3 separate regions of the Homo sapiens genome follow, and all the other regions are linked to region 1. Evidence: promoter capture Hi-C in 16 types of primary human blood cells and fetal thymus (Javierre and others, 2016). All regions are on one chromosome and are shown on one strand. Each heading gives the region's core, a stretch centred on a gene start or on the middle of the fragment in contact. The rest is flanking DNA. Distances are from core to core; before and after follow the strand shown.

What was found. Contacts are between HindIII fragments. The CHiCAGO score rates a contact against its expected background, and 5 or more counts as called.
Region 2: a fragment that was not itself captured here is called in contact with the fragment with the promoter of TMEM131 in region 1 in 2 of 17 cell types (M1 macrophages and M2 macrophages); the score reaches 5.5 in M1 macrophages.
Region 3: a fragment that was not itself captured here is called in contact with the fragment with the promoter of TMEM131 in region 1 in 1 of 17 cell types (M2 macrophages); the score reaches 5.1 in M2 macrophages.

The regions. Positions count from the first base shown.
Region 1 is chr2:97,994,671-97,997,253 of GRCh38, reverse strand. TMEM131 (transmembrane protein 131) reads left to right here and starts at 1,306. Exons shown (of 41, transcript NM_015348.2): 1 at 1,306-1,778. The coding sequence starts at 1,592. RefSeq lists enhancers at 597-876, 1,047-1,560 and silencers at 1,097-1,346, 1,457-2,016. The HindIII fragment of the contact is 7,821 bases long and covers 1-2,583 here.
Region 2 is chr2:98,278,975-98,281,557 of GRCh38, reverse strand. All of the region lies in intron 22 of VWA3B (von Willebrand factor A domain containing 3B), which reads right to left. Among named protein-coding and RNA genes, the nearest start is that of CNGA3, 66 kb to the left of the region's middle. RefSeq lists an enhancer at 857-1,357. The HindIII fragment of the contact is 262 bases long and covers 1,166-1,427 here.
Region 3 is chr2:98,256,615-98,259,197 of GRCh38, reverse strand. The region is part of intron 21 of VWA3B (von Willebrand factor A domain containing 3B); the gene reads right to left. Among named protein-coding and RNA genes, the nearest start is that of CNGA3, 89 kb to the left of the region's middle. The HindIII fragment of the contact is 8,873 bases long and covers 1-2,583 here.

The DNA of each region.
Region 1 (2,583 bases), core at 57-2,556:
CTTGTTCTGAGACGTACTGTGGGCAGACTTGGCCTTACACATATATCGACTCACTCAACAAATACAGCTAAGGAAAGTAAAATGTCTCTGGGCTACAAGCTGGGAGGAAGTTACTAAGATGAGTAAAGAAGGACCCCCTCCAAGAGCTTAAATTAAGTCTTGGAGACAACAGCCATGCGCACCAAGAAGCTCAACCTAAGATGAAAAGGGCATCTAAGAGGCGCGAGATGGCTCGTGAAGGTAACAGACGTCTTAAGAATTTTTCCGGGCCCAGCACAGTGGCTCACGCCTGTGATCCCAGCACTCTGGAAGGCCGAGGAAGGCGGACTGCTTGAGCCCAGGAGTTCGAGACCTGCTCGGCCAACATAGTGAGACAGCGTTTCTTAAAAGAAAAAGAAAAATTGGCGTGGCGTGGTGGCGGGTGCCTGTAGTCCCAGACCGCACCACTGCACTCCAGCCTGGGCGGCAGAACCAGACCCTGTCTCAAAAATAAATAAATAATTAAAAAATAAAGAAAAGAAAAAAAAGAATTCTTCCTCGAGAGAGGAAGCCGGCTACTGGATATTCTAAAGAGCAGTCTGTTTGCCCCTGCCTTCTCCATCCAGAGTCACCGACGCTTTCTGCACACGAGGTGTTCCGCGCCAATGTGGGCACAAGCCAAGGCAAGAGGACTCCATCAAGCTCCTCCTGGGTACCATGATTTGGAAGACCCAAGGATGAGTTCAGCGGGCCACCATCCTCAAGGAAGCACCATCAAGAACTGAGTCAGGCCCGGGGTATTCTCGACGTCAAAGCGGTCGAGAGGTGGGGGTGCCACCAGGAAGAGTCACTGGAACGGACCTTCCGCGCTCGTCTCGCGGTCTGTATGCGCACTCACACCCCTGGAAGGCTCTACCACTGTAGGACAGAGCACGGAGGATTGCCCAGGCGCCGGAGAAGAGGTTAGCGCCCCGCAACTCCGCCCCTGCCCCGCCCACGCAACGCGGCGGCTGCGCGGCGAGGCCGCCCCGTCTCCACGTGATTGCCGACACCGCCTCCGCGAAGCAGAAGCCGCCATCATAAGTCCTGGCAGCTGGACCTGGGCCTGCCTCCCTCCTTCTCCTGCGCCAGGTAGCGGTAACGGGCTGGGGTTGTTCTGTCCTGGTTCTGTCTGGCCGTGAAGCCGCAGGCCTCCGAGAGCGGGACGAGGAGGTGGGGCCCAGGGGGCTCCGGGGCGGACAGACTGACCGCCGGACAGCCCAGGTGTCGGCACAGCGTGGGCGGTGCCCAGAGCCGCGCCCCGCCCCTCGCAGGCCAGCGCTCAGGGCTCGCGGGCCGTGCCCGTTTCCAGTATGGCCGCCCGCCGCGCCTGACCCGCGGCCTCTCCGCTCCGACTGCTTGTAGGCGATGCCCAGGCAAAGACCGTGACTGACACTCTCGCTCACACGCACGCACGGACCCAGGCCCACGCTCGGAGATCGAGCCCCGGGCTCGCAACCGTTGTCGCTCCCGGCGCCGCGGCCAGAGCCCGGACCACGGCTTCCGCGCCGCCGCCGCCTCGCCGAGAAGGGCCGCGCCGGACCTCGAGCGCGGCGGCCCCCGGCCGGCAGGGATGGGGAAGCGGGCGGGAGGAGGAGCAACCGGAGCCACCACCGCCGCCGTCTCCACGTCCGCCGGGGCCGGGCTGGAACCTGCGGCCGCCCGTAGCGGGGGCCCGCGGAGCGCGGCCGCCGGCCTCCTAGGCGCGCTGCACCTGGTGATGACCCTCGTAGTGGCTGCGGCGCGGGCCGAGAAGGAAGGTGGGTGTCCCCCGGCGGCGTCCCTGCGGCGGGGCTGTCACCCCGCTCTCGCGGAGGCCGGGAGGGCTGGGCCGGGAGGAAGGGCCGCGGCCGGGGCTCCGGCGCAAAGTTGGGCGGTCGGGTACCGTCCCGAGCCGGGACCTCGCGGCGCCCGCCGCACGGAGTGGCCTTCGCTCTCCGTGATTCCTTCCCGTGCCTTCCCCCGTCTCCTGTCACTGCCATTTCAAAACTTCCTGACTTCTCGTACGTTCTTGCCACTTGGCCCGCTAGGTAGGAGGGGCATATTTTTTGGCTTTATTGCGGCGAATAGGTACATTTTAGGACACTTCTGTTTTCTTGGTTGCGGTTGGTTGCATGCAGACAGAGCTTACTTTAAAATGTGGTAAAAATAGCGAGACACAGCTTAAAAAATTTCACTTTGAATTTGTTCAGACATTTCTTCGAGGGGAAATCTTGGTCCTGTAGCTTCCTCCTTTAGTGTCTCTGCGTTATTGATAACTTTATTATTAGACCTAAATACAATTCCATTTAACTCTTTAGTAAGCTGTTGAAAGCCTGTTTACATTTCTTATTTTAAAATACGTGATTCGGTGCCTTTATCTTTGATGTGAAAGCCTTTAAAAATAAACGTGAAGTTGCCAGCTTGCAAGCATTTATCTATAATTTACAGTTAAGGGCTGGCCCCTATTTTAAAAATCTCATTAGTATTGTACTGCTGCAAAACGGGTACTTGGACAGGGTCAAAAATTATTTTGTAATCTTGAAGACCAAATCAGTGTAATTTCATCTACACTACCTCTTTTTG
Region 2 (2,583 bases), core at 47-2,546, 280 kb before region 1:
AATTAACTAGAACTAATCTTTGGCTCAAAATCTTGTTAAAAACACCCACTACTAAATACTTTTCCTGCCCTAAATCATTGAACTCCAGCATATACAATCCCCTAATTGTCGTAACAGCAGCTCCAACATGCTTCTTTGTCCACGTTTGTCCTTAAGGCCATGTAAAGTCTGTCACTGCTCTAATCAAAGGAATGTGTGTAGGTTCAGACAGGTGCTGACCTTTCCCCTTTCTAGGACACTTAATTAAAAGACCGGGACATTTGCAAACTGTCTCTGTGAATAATTCAACTCCCTTTAAAACCTTGGTGAACAGGACAGGGCTAACCTGAAGCGTTTGGGAACTCACTCTCTCCCCGCTCATTTAGATTTAGAGGGATTTCATCCACCCAGAAAGTATCCAGACTCTGCATCCCTTTGAAAAATGGACTGGAGAGAGAATGAGAAAAGAGCTTACAGGAAAATAGAAATCAGGAGTGGCAAACTCCTGCCCAGCATCTCCGGGGCGGGGAGCGAGTGGCCCATGGCAAACGAATTAGTGCCTTCCTTCCCAGGGCATTTGCACTTTAACAGAAGGCAAATATTGTGCTAAAGAAGTGAAGCTCTAAGTGGAATTTCCTGCATGAGCCCTGAAGAAGCAGCAAGGTCTTCTTGTGAGCTGCTATCAAGTACGGCACATCTGGGCGGGGGCTCAAGGGAAAGCTGGCAGTGCTGCCTGGCCGGCCAAGGCTTAAGGGGGTTTTGATCCCCTTCCTTTCCAGTAGTCTTAGGCACTTAGCCTTGCCTTAAAAACCAAAGGGATGTAGAGGAGTGCTTTGTGAGGTTTTCCCCCGCCTCCCCAGGGCATAGCATAACTCGTGAAAACACACAGCCAGTAACACGCATCCCAAAACCCCAGTGCAGTTTCCACCTCCCTCTCCAGGCGCTGCTTCCTGAGCCCGGCACAGGCCTGGTGAGCGGTCTGGCCTCAGCCTCATCCCAGCTGGTAGCGCTTTGTGCCGTGCGAATGGCTAAGAGGCACAAGAAACACTTCCACAGACAGATCCCCGAACCAGGAAACATTCCTTCCCCTCCCTGACCCCAGGGCAGCACCGGGGTGTGGAGAACAGTTAATCACCCTGAAAGCAAAACCTCCAGTCAAACATTAACAAATAGCTACCTCAAAGCTTTGCTGAAAATAAACTTGTGTGTTTTTTTTCTCTCTCTCTCTTTCTTTTCTTTGTGGCAGCAAAGGAATCTAATAAACATATACTATATTCCAAACAGAAAAACAAAAAAATCCAAAACTATTTCCCTATCTTGAAAGTAAACCTGCAACGTCATCTCAGGAAATATTCCCTTATTGCTCTTTTAGGAAAAAACACACAAACAAACAAAGAGAGAAAAATTTGAAGTGTGTTACATATTTATATCTGGAAATCACCAAAGCTTGGGATTTGTAATTTCGCGTTCCTGATACAGTTATTCATTTCCCGCTACTCCGGAGATGAACAAAAGCCACACTTGGGAGCCACTTTCGTGGCACTGCCTTGACGTATGAACCACTACCAGCCACCTACTTTACACAAACATCTCACACGAGACTGGTGTGCAAATGAATTCTGAGTCTTTAAGAAAACTTTTCAAGACATCCACTCCTCTGGGCTGGCTATTCCGCCCCCACTCACGCATCCCCCTTGCTCTCTGCCCTTCCTTGCCCTGCTCTGTACCCCCAGAGGCTGGCCCCCAGGGAACACACCACCCTATCTCCCTAATTTTTGCTGTCTTGAGGCACGCGCCAAGCTCAGAAGGCAGGAGGAAGCCGGGGTATTGGTGTCCTGCCCACTCCCTGCTCTTTCTCTCTAGGGCTCCAGGAACACGCTTTCCTTCCCTTGCCCCTTTAAGTCTGGGGATGATAACAGCTTCCTGCTATTGCTTGTCCTGGGGTCCTGCAATATCCCACGGACTGCCTTAGACTGACCTTCACTTCTGCAAAGAGTTCCTTCATTAACGTTTCTTCACTTGTGCTGAATGAATTGGATTCTGCTTCCTGAGTGGCCCCTGCTAAGCCCTCTACACTCCGTTTTCTTCCTCCAGACAGGGAGGGCAAATCTGTCCCCAGATCTGTTTAGGGTGCTTGGGTAGAATTCATGGTTGGGAACAAAGACAAATGTAGAGGCAGGAGAGTGCTGGCATCTGCCCAGCCGAATCTCCAGCGAGGAGGGTGCCTTTAGCTTCAGAATGAAAAGACAGCCTGGTTCTAAGTTTTTGTCACCTCAGGGATCCCCAGAGTTGACACCCACCTTCCCATTCCTGAACATCAGGACATGAGACAGAAGACTTCTTAGAAAATAGAGTTTGGGGATATTTTCCCCCTTCTTTCAGTTTCCTCCAGTGACTGGTGTTTCTGAGCAGGATTCTCTCCTTAAAGCCCCATCTAACCCCTAGATAAACGTGGCACAGTAATGAAGGGCTTCATTTTCTCTTTGTCATCCTCTCACTGCCTCTGGGATTTCAGCTTCACTCTGGCCACATGCCCTGGAGGCCCATCAGGGGTCCCACTTCCAGATGCTAAACCATCACTGCAGTGCTGTCTGAGGACGGCAT
Region 3 (2,583 bases), core at 36-2,535, 260 kb before region 1:
ATGGACATAAATATTCTTAATAAAACACTAGCAAATCAAATCCAAAAGGACATTAAAAGGATTATACACCATGACTAAGTAGGATTTATGCCAGAAATGCAGGAGTGGTTCAACCCAAGAAAATCACATGATTTAATACATCACATTAGTAGAGCAAAGGGAAAAATCCATGATCATTTCAATAGATACAGAAAAAAGCACTTGACAAAATTTAACACACACTTTTCATGATAAAAACAATCAGGAAACTAGGAATATAGGGAACTTCCTTTCTTTCTCACTGGGATCAGGAACAAGACAAGAACGTCCCCTTTCACCACTGCTATTCAATGTTGTTCTGGAAGTACTAGCTAGATCAATTAGGTAAGAAAAAGAAATAAAAGGCATCCAAATTAGAAAGAAAGAAGTAAAATTATTTCTACTTGCAGATGATATGTTTCTATATATAGAAAACCCCATAGATTCCCCACAAAGCCACTAGTACCAATAAATTCAGCAAAGTTGCAAGGTACAAAGTCAAAATACAAAATTCAGCTGTGTTTTTATGTACCAGCAATGAACAATCTGAAAATGAAGTTAAGAAAACAATCCCATTTATAATAGCACCCAAAAGAACAAAATAACAGAGGATGTGAAAGGCAGGTATACTGAAAACTATATAACATTGCTGAAGGAATTAAAGATCCACTAAATAAATGGAAAGACATTCTATGTTCATTGATTGGAAAACAATATTGTTAAAATGGTAATACTCTTCAAAGCAATCTTTAGATTAAATATAATCCCTACAAAAATTCCAATTTTTTTTTCAGAAATAGAAAAGCCAATCCTCAAATGTATACAAAACTTCAAGGGGCCCTGAATAGCCCAAACAATTTTGAAATAGAAGAACAAAGTTGAAGGACTCATATTTCCTAATTTCAAAACTGAATACAAATCTACAATAATTAAAACAGTGTCAACTTGCATAAATATAGTCATATATAGACCAGTGGAATAGAATAGAGAGTCCAGAAATAAACCCAAACATTTATGGTCAGATGATTTTTGACAAGGGTGCCAAGACCATTCAAAGGGAAAGAATAGTCTCTTAAACAAATAGTGCTGGATAAACTGGATATTTACATGAAAAAGAATGAAGTTGGAACCCTACTTCACACCAGATACAAAAAGTCCCTCAAAAATGGATCAAAAGTCCAAATGTAAGACCTAAAACTGTAAACATATTAGAAGAAAACAAAAGGATAAATGCTCATGATTTTGTATTTGGCAATGGATTCTTAGATTTGACACCAAAAACACAAACAAAAGAAAAAAAAAGAAGAATTCACTTCCTAAAACTTAAAAACTTTTGGACCTCCAAGGACATTATGAAGAATACGAAAAGATAACCCATAGCATGGGAGAAAATACTGACAAATCAGATATCTGATAATGACTTAATCCTCAGAAGTTATACAACAAAAACACAACCCAATTGGAAAATGGACAAAGAACTTGAATAAACATTTCTCCAAAGAAGATATACAAATGGACAACAAGCACATGAAAAGATGTTTAACATCATTGGTCATTAAGAAAATGTGTATCAAAACCACAGCAGAATAGCCTTTCACACCCATGAGAATGACTTAAAAAAAAAAAGAAAAGGAAAATGTCAAGTGTTCATGAGGATGTGGAGCAATGAGAACCTACCACATGATCCAGCAATCTCACTACTGGATATTTATCCAAAGATAGTAAATCAATATGTATCATAGGGACACCTGCACCCTCATGTTTATTGCAGCAAGATATGGAATCAAACAAACTAAGTATCCATCAACGGATGGATGGATAAAGAAAATGTGGTATATATACACAATGGAATACTATTCAGCCAAAAAAAGGAACAAAATCCTATCATTTGCAGCAACTTAATATCATTTGCAGCACTTAATATCATTTGGAGGTCATGATATTAAGTGAGATAAGCCCGGCACAGAAAGACAAATAGTTCTCACCCATCTGTAGGAGCTAAAAACAAAAAAAAGTTGATCTTATGGAGGCAGAAAATAGAATCATAGTTACCAGAGGCAGGGAAGAGTGTGTGTGGAGGTGGGGGAGATGAAGAGAGGTTTGACTATTGGACACAAACATACAGTTAGGTAGAAGGAAAAAGTTCTAACACTTGACAACACAGTAGGGAGACCATAGTTAACAATAATTTACTGTATATTTCAAAATAGCTAAAAGAGACAACTTGAAATGTTCCCAACACAAAGGGATAATAAATGTTTGAGGTGATAGATAGTCTAAACATCCTGATTTGATCATTACATGTGTGCAAGTATCAAAATATCACATGTACCCCAAAATATGTACAATTATTATGGGTCAATAAAAATAAATAGATATGTTCTAAAAATGGCATAGCCACTGTGGAAAAACAGTTTGGTGGTTCCTCAAAAAGTTAAGCATAGAATTACCATGTGACAAGCAAATCCACTGCTAGGTATATACCCAAGAGAAATGAAAACATATGTCCACAAAGAAACTTCTACACAAATGCATATAGCAACATAGTTCATGATAGCGAAAAAG